Linked DNA regions of Homo sapiens: all the other regions are linked to region 4. The links are contacts of gene promoters, found by promoter capture Hi-C in blood cells and fetal thymus (Javierre and others, 2016). All regions are on one chromosome and are shown on one strand. The core of a region is centred on a gene start or on the middle of the fragment in contact, and the rest is flanking DNA. Distances in the headings are between cores, read along the strand shown.

The links. Contacts are between HindIII fragments. The CHiCAGO score rates a contact against its expected background, and 5 or more counts as called.
Region 1: a fragment that was not itself captured here is called in contact with the fragment with the promoter of GSTM3 in region 4 in 1 of 17 cell types (erythroblasts); the score reaches 5.3 in erythroblasts.
Region 2: a contact is called between a fragment that was not itself captured here and the fragment with the promoter of GSTM3 in region 4, in 1 of 17 cell types (M1 macrophages). The highest score is 5.1, in M1 macrophages.
Region 3: a fragment that was not itself captured here is called in contact with the fragment with the promoter of GSTM3 in region 4 in 1 of 17 cell types (erythroblasts); the score reaches 5.1 in erythroblasts.

Annotation. Positions count from the first base shown.
Region 1 is chr1:109,568,510-109,571,370 of GRCh38, forward strand. All of the region lies in intron 1 of GNAI3 (G protein subunit alpha i3), which reads left to right. Among named protein-coding and RNA genes, the nearest start is that of GNAI3, 21 kb to the left of the region's middle. The HindIII fragment of the contact is 1,772 bases long and covers 657-2,428 here.
Region 2 is chr1:109,501,132-109,504,353 of GRCh38, forward strand. AMIGO1 (adhesion molecule with Ig like domain 1) reads right to left here. Exons shown (of 2, transcript NM_020703.4): 2 at 3,047-3,222. Among named protein-coding and RNA genes, the nearest start is that of AMIGO1, 7.0 kb to the right of the region's middle. The HindIII fragment of the contact is 1,161 bases long and covers 1,082-2,242 here.
Region 3 is chr1:109,551,317-109,554,244 of GRCh38, forward strand. All of the region lies in intron 1 of GNAI3 (G protein subunit alpha i3), which reads left to right. Among named protein-coding and RNA genes, the nearest start is that of GNAI3, 4.2 kb to the left of the region's middle. The HindIII fragment of the contact is 1,395 bases long and covers 939-2,333 here.
Region 4 is chr1:109,739,783-109,742,705 of GRCh38, forward strand. GSTM3 (glutathione S-transferase mu 3) reads right to left here and starts at 1,256. Exons shown (of 9, transcript NM_000849.5): 1 at 1,171-1,256; 2 at 458-729; 3 at 51-126. The coding sequence starts at 505. RefSeq lists a silencer at 466-695. The HindIII fragment of the contact is 14,932 bases long and covers 1-2,441 here.

The DNA.
Region 1 (2,861 bases), core at 293-2,792, 170 kb before region 4:
CGCTCCAGCCTGGGTGACAGAGCAAGACTCTGTCTCAAAACAAAAAACAAACAAACAAAACCCCATGTTTAGGTAAATACAGTGATTCTACATTAGAGTACATATTGTTGAATTTTTTTTTTGGTCTAACAGTGTTGATGATTATGTATCCAAACTGTAGATAAACACAGATGATTTTCTTTTTCTTTTTGCCAGAACAAGGTCTTGCTCTGTGCCCAGGTTTGAGTGCAGTAGCACAGTTGTAACTCACTGCAACCTTGAACTCCTGGGCTCAAGAGATTTTCCCAAGTAGCTGGGATTACAGGTGTGTGCTACCAGGCCCAGCTAATTTTTTGTGTTATTCTTGTTGTTTGTTTTTTTTTGGTAGAGATGAGGTTTGCCTATGTTGCCTAGGCTGGTCTTGAACTCATGGCCTCAAGTGATCCTCCTGCCTTGGCCTCCCAGAGTGATGGGATTATAGGTGTGAACCAACCATTCCCTGTCCCCAGATAGTTTTCTAAATTAATCCTCTCCCTTTATTCTCTGCAGATTGCCTTGCCTCTTTTATTGAGAATGAAACTAACATGGCTTCCTTCCTCCTTTTATTCTCAAAAATCTCCGTGACTTCACCTCTCATCCTTTTCTCCTACTTATATAGGATATCCTTTAAAGGATAAAGCTTCTGTGTTGAACGGATCCTATTGCCTCCTGTTTCTGGGACCTTTCCAACTTTTTCTCCCCTGTGTATCCTAACCCCCTGCATAGTTCCATCCCTTCTGCATACAGAGTCCTCTTCAGTTCCTCCCTTTTGAAGCCATAGCTGCTGTCTTTGCAGTATCCTTTGCATCTTCCCATTCTTTGTATTTCAACTATTACTTCCCTGGTGTATTGAAGATGGGCAACTGAATCTCTCCTTAAACTTGTGATACATTTTTGAAAAAAGATAGATAAAAGATGCAGATAAAATTAGGAAGTTCTGAACACCACATGTGTTGTGGAGTAGGGAGATGGAACATAGGAAGCAGCTTGGGGAAAACGCAACAATGAGATGTTATGAAAAGGGAGCTTACTGCTAGAACAATGGAGCACAGAGAGTTGAGGTAAAAGTGAAGAGCCCAGACCTAATAAGAAAGGGTTATAGAAAGTGTTTCAATAATTTGGAGAATTATTAGATAAACTGATGGTTTTAAAAATAGTGCCCCTGAGATGGAACTGGAAGCTCAGGAGAAGATATTAGTGTGATAATAAAGGGAAAGGCAAACTGACATTTTCTCAGGGAGCCTTGGAAAAATGTGAGAGAGGTAGGGCAACAGAGGGTTTTTTGTTTTTTTTTTTAATCAGCGCATCCATAGGGTAGGATTAATGAGATAGGTAGAAATTGATTCTGAGATTAATGGATTTATTATTTCATTCAAGATAATCTCACATGAATGATGGAAATGTGGTTTTCAATATATAAAAGAATGGTACACATTAATTCATTAATCTCAACTTTTCTTAATTTAGTAGCTCTTGTTACTATGGATAATCTGGGAATTCTGTCTTTTAAGCAATTTAAAATATAACTGGTATGCATTTGTATTTTCTTCCCAGAGTAGAATCATTGGATTTTTTAGATATGAATGAGAGGATTCACCTTTTTATAACAGCATCCTAAGAAAGTCACTATGTGCTATTTGAGTATTAACTATTTAGTACTACCCCTGATTATCGATTATGTAATAAGACAAGATCATATATAAATGTACCTTTTGATTCTGTAAGAATGTAGTTGTCTAGAATTTTTATATTTGGATTTTAATTAACTTTTGGTTAGTAAAGTTGAGAAATATTTAGTAAAGAATCATGGTTACTAAATATTATTCATTGTTTAGTAATATTTATTTGAGTAGATAATTTATGTCATGACCAGTTTAAGGCCCTGGGAATGCAGGGATGAATAAGCCTTCATGGAGCTTATATTTTAGTGGGGAAGATAAGAAATGAGCTAATCTGTCATGTGAAGAAGTGGTAAGTGCTATGAAAAAATATAACACAGAATAAGGGGAGAGACTGTGACGGGGTGGGAGCTATTTAGATAGATTAGTCAGAAAAGGCTGTTCCTGTGAGGAAGAAAATCTTGCAAAACTTATTTCAGGTAACAGTAAACGCAAAGACAGGAAAGACAGAGTCAGGACCTAACTCAGTAAGAACCGGTTTGGTATGTTGGAGGAAAAGCAAGAATGCTGGTCTGACAAGAGCTGTGAGGACAAAGTGGAGAGTAACAAGAGATGAGGGTGAAGAGGTAGGCAGGGGCCAGAGCATATTGCACCATAATGCCCATGGATTTTGAGTATAATTGAAGATCGTGTGACAAGATCTAATTTACATTTTACAAAGTTTATTCCACCTACTGACTGGCAAACTGGCTTTAGAAAAGGCAAGGTCTGAAGCACTGAACTATTTAGGAAGCTTTTGCAGTGATCTAGGCCTATGGTTTCCAATGTTCAGGAACAAACTGTTAAAACTATTATATTAACTATTTATATTGCTTTATTTAAAAAAATTAAGCTTTACTAATATTTAATATACAGATTGGCACTGGCATCCTTGTCTTATCTGCACGTTAGTCACATGTCATTTAACATTTTTGGCTTGAGCAACTGGTGAATGTTGGTGCCATTTACTGGAATGAGAAGACTGAGGGAGGAGCAGGGTTTGTTTTGAGGTGAGAGTGAGTTGGGGAATCAGTATCTCAGTTTTGAGCATTTTAGGTTTGTGAAATCTAAATACCTACTAGAAATCTAATATCAGGTAGATGGTTTAGATATATGAATCTGGAGCCAAGGTTAGAAGCCAAGATTAGAGATCTAAATTTGGAAATCATTAGTATAGAGACAGTA
Region 2 (3,222 bases), core at 412-2,911, 240 kb before region 4:
TTCCATTTGTCTGAGAGCAGCAGCAGTCTGCCTGGAGTGGATGCAAAGAAGCAGGAACAGCAAAACAGCAGTGCAGAGGCTTGAATATTCGTTTTTTATCTTAATTGCTTTTTCTGTCCTGGGATCCAGGAATGAAACACTAGTCAGGCATTGTGTGCAGAGCCTCAGCAGTTCTCACCAGCACTGCACAAAGACGACAAGCTGAAAGGCAGAACTGCCCTGGAGGGTGGTTTGAAGTAGCCCGTCTCCAGCATGGCGCTGGGCTTAACCCCTTCATGTAGGCAGAAATTACCTCCAGTGAGGGGACCTTCCCCCTACCCACCCACTCAGGAGACTCAGCTAGTCACCAGATGCATCACAGAATAACAATCTCAGTTTATAATCCTGCTATTGCTAGGATTTCCCAGATGAGTTTTTAACCTCTGTTGGAAGCAGATTAAGGAACGACTTCAGGCTATTCAGTGGCATCTGAGGAGCCAACTCTGTCTCACTGAGTATACATGAGTGGCCCCCTAGCACCCCTATCTTTAAAGCAGATACCCAGTTATCTCATGGTGCTTTCTAAGGATGCTCAGTTCTGCTCAGGCCCCCCAAAAGCAAACTATGACCAAGTGAGGGAGCAGTGGGAGGTAAGGGAAATGCAGCACAAAGTACAATCCAACTCCAGTACTTGCCAACCTGTATGTGTGCGCACATGCACGCATACACCAGCCTTGGAGGCAATGACTCCTGCCTAATGTATGCCAGTGCCAAAGGGCATCCAGAAGTCCCACTGCAGGGCTCCACGTCCTGGCTCACTGCAGGTTGGTTCTCTCAGGCCATGGTTCCAACCAGGGAGAGTAAACAAGCTGACTAGATTGGAGGCGTCAGGGCAGGTCTAAGTGTCTTCACCATTTTGCATTTTCCACCTAAGAGTGTAGAAGCCTGATGAAGGGGCTTGACTGGCAGCTGCTTTAGCCTTCCTCTCTCAAGCCCCAGGAGAGGAAGCATTCAGCACAGGCTGACTGTGACTAGACCAGAAAAGCCAACCGTCCCACTGCAGGGGCCTGAGCCTTTTCTGCTATGTGGGTGGAGAAAGTGAAGCTTCCCCACTGGTTTCCTGGGAGATACAAGATAAGTGGTGCAAGAAGTGCATGCAGAAAGGGAAGGAGTTGAGAGACTGGGGGGAAGAGAGGCCAGGTTAACCAATGCACTGAACTCTTACCTATTCTCAAAGAAAACTGTCATATTAGCCTCCTCCCTCCCCGCAAGTGCTACCTAAGAGGAGCCAGGGTAAGTGCTGCAAGGCATGGCAGACAAAATTGCACATCTTGGCCAGAATCTAAGGAACTTCTTGTGGTTTGGGGGAGGTGGTGAGGATGTGGGTGGTGGGTGGGTGGGGGGTGTTGAAGAGATGCAGCCATGGACTTCCTTGGGCTTGGCACAGGCCAAAACAGAAGAGAGAACTCCAAACTCCAAGTAGTCCTCATCAGACTTGCTCTCCTTATCAGCTTCATCCTGTCAGCCAAATTGTCAGCCATAGAAAAACTGCTTTGCAGATGAAAAACTATATAAATGCAGAGTATGGGAGTGCTCTGACATCAACAGCTGTCATTTCACTGACTGCCAAGGTTGACTTGTCTGATGTGGCTGGTTGTGCAGTAGCTCCACCCCTCGTCACCTTGGTTGTTCCTCCTGAAGTGAAAAACAACTTTCCAAATAGAGGAGGGCTGCCCTTCGGTCAAGACTTTAGGTAAGTATTCAAATTCGCATTCTTTTAATTTTTTTCCTGGTATCATTTCCTCTCCCTCTTTGGAATCTGCCACGACAGCCCCCTTCTAGAATCACCAAGAGAGGAGCCAAAGAATCAGCATGGTTAGAGTTTTAGAGTCCAGTCCAATTTCTGGTAGGCTGAATCTGTACCAAAACGTAGGGACTGCATTTTTCTGTTCCACGCAATGCCTAGGACACACTAAACTGTCAAGGAAGATTAACCTGCCCATTAGGTGAATATACTTTTAGCCTAAGATGGCTACCATTTACAACATGAAAATACTGATAATAAAATTCTGTGAAAGTGAGCTGCTGCCCACCATTTTTTAAAACCCAATCCAAGCATTTTTTCCATGGTATGGTCAGTAGGCTTGATCCAGACTTTTAAGAGAACTCGGCAGGGAGGCAACCCTCTGCCCTAGGGATCCAGGAAGACTTCATTATCTACAAGCCTCAGCGAGCGCCAAGTCATGGGATTTCTAAACTCTAAAGCTTCAGTGACATTTGAGAATCTTAGGGGTCAGCAAAGTATGGTCTGTTGGTCAAACCAGCCCACTGCCTGGTTTTATGTGGCCTGTGAGCTAATAGTAGTTTATATATATATATATATATATATATAACATTTTTTTTTTTTGAGATGGAGTCTTGCTCTGTTGCCCAGGCTGGAGTGCAGTGGCGCTATCTTGGCTAACTGCAAGCTCCACCTCCCGGGTTCACCCCATTCTCCTGCCTCAGCCTCCTGCGTAGCTGGGACTACAGGCGCCCACCACCACACCCGGCTAATTTTTTGTATTTTTAGTGGAGACGGGGTTTCACCGTGTTAGCCAAGATGGTCTCGATCTCCTGACCTTGTGATCCACCTGTCTCGGCCTCCCAAAGTGCTGGGATTACAGGCGTGAGCCACCGCGCCCGGCCTAGTTTATATATTTTTTAATGCTTGGAAAAACTCAAAAGGCATGTTAAAATATGAAATTCAAATTTCAATGTCCATAAGTCAAATCTTTTTTGGACCACAGCCACAGTCATTCATTTTTGTCCTGTCTGTGGCTACACTCAAGCTATAGCAGCACAGCTGAGTTGTAACAGAGACTGTGTGGTCTGCAGAGCCTAAAATATTTACTATCTGGCTCGTTAGGGAAAATGTTTGCTGACCCCGGTCCATCTTAATGCCTAGATGTGTATTTCACCCATGTCCGTACAATAGCACTTAAAGATTTTCTTCCTAGATAGGACACACCCTTCTGAGGTACAGTGAACCCCACCCACAGGCTGAAAAAATAAACCAGTCAGATTGTGCCAGAACAGAGACTCAAGCCAGGTTTAATGATCATTGTCTAGTTTTCAGAGCCCAGAGGCTCCAAGATTTGCCAGCCTAGGTGTACACAAGTGGGAGGAATGGGGTCTTGGACACGGGAGGCCTGCTTGCTTTGTCAGCAGAGCTACGAGGAAGTACAGAGGTAAGAACACACA
Region 3 (2,928 bases), core at 386-2,885, 190 kb before region 4:
GCAAAATGTACCCAAAACAGTATACAGTTTTCTTTTTCCTGGATAATGTCTCCTTTGCTGTAGATGCAAGTCATTTTTACTTTATCACTATGGAACTTAGTTTAAGTTGAGATCTATCTACTTACCCTGTGTCTCCTGACACATGATATATTTTCTTTCTTATGGGGGTGTAGTTTAACATGGTGATTAATAGCATGGGTCCTGAAGTCAGACTGCTTTAAATCCTAATTCCCATTTACTAGTTATAGCCTTGGGAAAGTTAATTTCTCTTGGCCTCAGTTTTCTTATCTTTAAAATGGAGAAAATAGAGCTACTCCTAGGATTGCTGTGAGGATTAAATATGGTAATAATGTAAAGCAGAACACAGCTTGGCACATAGTACTAGCTCCATGAAGATTAGCTATTCTTATTAAGTCAAAATGAATGTTACAGATTGTAGGTATTATGGAAATTATACCAAATTAAGCAGCTAGTGTGGGCCAGATTATTTACAGACACTTCAGTATTGTAATTCTTCCTTTGATAACCTTTGGTTTGAATTTCATTTAGATGTTCTTGGAAAGGGCTGGGCGTGGTGGCTCCTGGCTGTAATCCCATCACTTTGGGAGGCCGAGGCTGGTGGATCACCTGAGGTCAGGAGTTCGAGACCAGCCTGGCCAACATGGCGAAACCCCATCTCTACTAAAAGTACAAAAATTAGCCGGGCGTGGTGGTGTGCACCTGTAGTCCCAGCTACTTGGGAGGCTGAGGCAGGAGAATCGCTTGAACCCGGGAGGTGGAGGTTGCAGTGAGCAGAGATGACGCCACTGCACTCTAGCCTGGGTGACAAAGTGAGACTCTTTGTCTCAAAAAAAAAAAAAATAAAGTGTTCTTGGGAAGATCTTGGTATATCAAATTAGTGTTTAATTATGACATTCTATTGAAAAAATACCATGCAAAGCTTCCCAACCAATGTTCCAGTGCTTAGGATGGCATATAGGTGTGCTGTTTACAAATTTTTTATAGCATTGAAATTTTAAATCATTTTTATAAGTTCAAACTTTTACAACAGTTGAAATTACATTTGAACATCTTTGGTATGATTTCCTCTTGTATAATTCATGAATTTGGTAATTTGGTTATTTACTATTTAAACAATTAGAGATGGGGGTCTCATTATGTTGCCCAGGCTGGTCTCAAATGCTTGGCCTCATGTGATTCTCCCATCTCAGCCTCCCAAAGTGCTGGGATTACCAGTGTGAGCCACTGTGCCTACCCTACCATGAATTTGGTAATTTGAAAAAATTTTATTTGGTATAAATACTAAATTTATACCAATTTAATATTTAATATCATTTGTAATACTTTGTATTTTTTTCATGCCATAATTTCATAATAAGAAATTTTGTGTGTGCGGGTTTTGTTTTTGTTTTTTTTTGACCCCAGGGCAAGCAAGAAAATTTTTTTTCACCAAGCTCTTTCAGCTCACCCCAATGAGCCTTACAAATATTTTTAATGTGTGCCATCATGTGACAAAGGTTGGGAAGCACTGGTATAATGGATAAGAGCACTGCTTTTGGATTCACACAAAACTGAATTTAAGTTCTACCTCCACTTATTAGCTCTGAGACCCAGAGCAAGTAACTTAACCATAAGAATAATAATTTTTACATATGTAAAGCAGAGATGATGTTTCATAATATGAAATGAGATAATGCATGTAAAATGCTTCACATTAGTGCCTAGCAAATAAAAAATAGTAAGTGGTCACTTCTATTGATGATGATGATCGTGAGAATTACCATTTTAGCTACTTTTTTCAGAGGTTTTTCAGACAGCTGTTTTATTATTTTTCATATTAATATACTATTTTCAAAGATCTTCAAAGAATTTTAATATCCTTTTGTGGTGAAAGGAATTAAATGTTAGTCCTTTTTTTTTACTCATCACTGTACTAATGAAGATACTTAGTTTTGTAAATTATTGAATTATCTGCTCTCTGTATTTCTGTTTCTTGATAGTTTCCTTTAGCAGGTTCTGAGAAAACATAAAAAAAAACTTTGTTCTTTGGGATTTGCTGGTGGTAGTATGGCAAAAAGCCAGTTGCATGCAGAGAACTGGAATCATCTAATTTACTTAAACTCTATATTATACAGTTAATTATATTTAAATTGCTGCATATTATTGGCTGAATATGCTTATTATTGAGAATAAGACTGCCCTTTGGTAAACATGCCATTACATTATATCCTCCTATGGGATTATACCCTTTATTATGTTTGCCATTTGCTTGGGATAAGGTTCATGGCCAGTTACATTTCATGTGAGGATGCATCTGTGTTTCGGGGAAAAAAAGCTTTGTGTTTTATAAGCATGTATCATTCTTTGTGTCTTTTATTTAAATGCATTAGTCACTTTTTTAACATTTCAATAGGTTTTTGGGGAACAGGTTATGTTTGGTTACGTGAATAAGTTTAGTGGCAATTTCTGAGATTTTGGTGCACCCATCACCTGAGCAGTCTACACTGTACCCAATGTATAGTCCTTTATCCCTCACCACCTTCCCACCCTTTCCCCCGAGTCCCCAAAGTCCGTTGTATCATTCTTAGGCCTTTGCATCCTCATAGCTTAGCATCCACTTACAAGTGAGAACGTACGATGTTTGGTTTTCCATTCCTGAGTTACTTCACTTAGAGTAATCGTCTCCAGTTCCATCCAGGTTGCTGCAGATGCCATTATTTCATTCCTTTTTATGGCTGAGTAGTGTTCCATGGGTGTAGAGGGGTGTGTGTGTGTGTGTGTGTGTATATCACATTTTCTTTATCCACTCGTTGATTGATGGGCATTTGGGCTGGTTCCATATTTTTGCCATTGTGAATTGTGCTGCTATAAACATGCGTATGCAAGTATCTTTTTTGTATAATGGCTTCTTTCCTCAGGGTAGATACT
Region 4 (2,923 bases), core at 6-2,505:
GGGCAGGTGGAGGGCCAGCTTGGCTGCACGGGCACGCGGAGCGGCATTACCTTCCCCGCACGTGTACCGTTTCTCCTCATAAGAGGTATCCGTGAACTCCAGGAGCAGGCGGATGGCGTGCGCCAGCTGGGGAAGACAGCGGTTCAGCGACTGCGCAGCTCCCACCCATTCCCAACCCCCGCCCGCTAACGTTCCCCGGCCCGGGGCTGCCGAGTCCCTGCGTCCTGCCGGGGCGGTGGTTAAGCGGCCCCTAGGCCCGGCTCCGGCGTGGTCTCCTCCGCCCCTCCCCACAGGGCCCGCGATCCCAGAGGCTGGGCAGGGGTCGACATCCGTGGCTCGGCAGCTCGAAAAGGCTCCCGCGTAGAGCTGCTCCTGCTGGAGATCGCGGACCCAGAGACCCGCCCTCTCCGCGTCAGTCTCTTTGACCGAGCGGCTCTACCGTTGAGACGGCACTCACCCCACGAATATCCCAGTACCCGAGAACCATAGACGACTCGCACGACATGGTGACGGGCTTCCGAGCCTTCGAGGACTAGGGAAACTGTGAGCGGGAGGGGCTTTATACCCGACATAAGGGGGCGGGGCCCACGCGCGGGCGCCCTGACTCCGCCTCCGCCCCGTTCTCCGTCCCTTGCCTCCGCGGCTCCACAGGGCCGTGCGCAGGCGCGACTAATGCCGGCGTTGGGGTTCAGGGCCTGGCGACCCCGAGGCGGGACCCGGGCAGGAGTGCTGCAGGAGAGCAAAGGACCCGAGGTTGAGGCTCCTCCCTTCCCCGCGGGTGGGAGCCAGACTTCATTCATTAATGGTGCCAGTGAAGACGCGAAAAGCACCACTAGCCAGGCAGTGGGGACCCTAGTTACCCAGGGAGAGCGAGATTCGCGCCGTTTTTACCGAGCCAGCCGGGGCTGGATGAAGGATAGGAAGACTGGGGCAAGGCCGGAGAGTCAGACCAGCCTCTGACCACACAGAGCAGAAGATTCCCCACAGACCAAGCTCCCCTCTCTGTCAGTCAAGGACCTCTGCAACCTGACCCCAACGTGCTTTTCCAGTCCTGTCTCTCCCTCAGCCCGTCACAACTTCATAAGCCAGCCCAACCCAACAATACTTGCTGTTCCTTCTACACACACTTGCATTTCCCACCTTGGAGTGTTTGCTCTGTGATCCTCCTACCTGCATCCTAATTTCCACAGCCTATCCTTCCTCAGCAGCCTTGCTGAAATGTCTGCCTATTCCTTGAAGCCTTCTCAGAACCAACCTCTATCCTGGCCAGAAGAGGTCTCTTATCTTGAATGTTTCCTACCTTTGTTTTATGGGCTTAAGTAATTTATGGATTCCTTATTATAATTTCCTCCTCCAATCCCTCCCACTTCCTAATGCTCACGCATTTAGGGAAATTAATCTTGCCTCTTTGTGTAGGATGGACTGGAGGAGGAAAGGTACTACCATTTTTCATTCACTCATTCATCTGTCCAACAATGTTTAACATGCCTGTTATGGACAGGCACTGTTTTAGGTGCTGGGGATACAGAACTGAACTCAACAGACAAAATCCCTGCCCTCAGGAAGTTTACATTCTAATGGGGAAGAAATAAACTAATATATAGTAAATAGCTAGTAAGTCAGGTGGTGATACACATCCTATGGAGAGAAATAAAATCGAGAAGAGAGATAGGGGGTCTCAGGGTGGGAACTGGGGGAGTCCCAGTAGGAAGGGGATTTATGTTTTTAAAGGTTATGTTCATAGAAGGCCTCATGGAGAAGTTAATCTTTAAACAAAGACCTGAAGGAGGTGAGAGATCAAGCCACTCTGCTGTGGGGGCCACCATGGGCTGATATAAATATAAAACAGAATAATTGCTGTTCCTTTTACAAGCATGTTTGCTCTGCTCCTGCCTGCACCCTAATGTCCATGGCCTAGCCTTCCTCAAGTAGCCGTGCTCAAATGCTCACTTCTTCCTTGAAGCCTTCTCAGAATCACCCTCTATCCTGGCCAGAAGAGTTCTCTCCCTCTCTTATCTCGAATCACTTCCTACCTGCAGGAGGCAGAGAGAACTCCAGGAAAAGGGAAACAGCAAGTACAGGAGTGATCACTCTGTGTTTGAAACCAGAGACTAGATGAGATCACCATGGGAGCACGAGTAGCAGAGATGAGGTCTAAGGGTTTGAGGTGCTCTGGCATATCAACATGTAAAGGTTAGGGAAAAATGAGAGCAAACCAGCAAAGGAGTCTGAAAAGGAGTGGCCAGGGAGGTAGGAGGAAAACAAAAGGTCCCAGAAGCCATGTGAAGATGTTTAAAGGGAGAAGTGATCAACTATGTCAAGTGTGGCTGATCAAGTAAGATGAAGATGGAGAATCAATGGTTGAATTTAGGAAAGTAGGGGTTTTGACCTTGACAGAGCAAGAGACCTGCCCGAGGCCCCTATAGTCATGGGAAGAACTAAGCTTCTGAATTTCGGCAGGGCCCATGCAAATGAAAAGGGGCACAGATTTGCAACAGGGTCAACTCGGGAGACATAGGATTCTAGTTGAATGTGGAGGAGTGACAGAGGAAGGAGTCCGGAGCTGCTCTGAGGGTTCTGGCCAGGCCTCTGCAGCACAGCTCTCAGGGCAGTCTGAGAGCCTAGATCCCCTAGCTCAGGTGTGGGAAATCACATTTGCCCATCAGTTCAACTGAAGCAAGGTTGGGACTTTTTAAAAGGGCATTTTGCTAAACAGAAGAAAGGAAGAGTACAAACCACATGGACAGGTGAAATTTATAATGCCTGTGTCTCTCCTCCCAAGAAAGCAAAAGGCCAGTCACAAATTCACCTGAGGTATAAGATTAACATTTATTGAGCACCTATCATATGCCAGGCAATATCTAAGTGTTTACGTATGTTAGCTAATTTATTCCAATTTAAGCTTCACAACAACTTTAGGAAG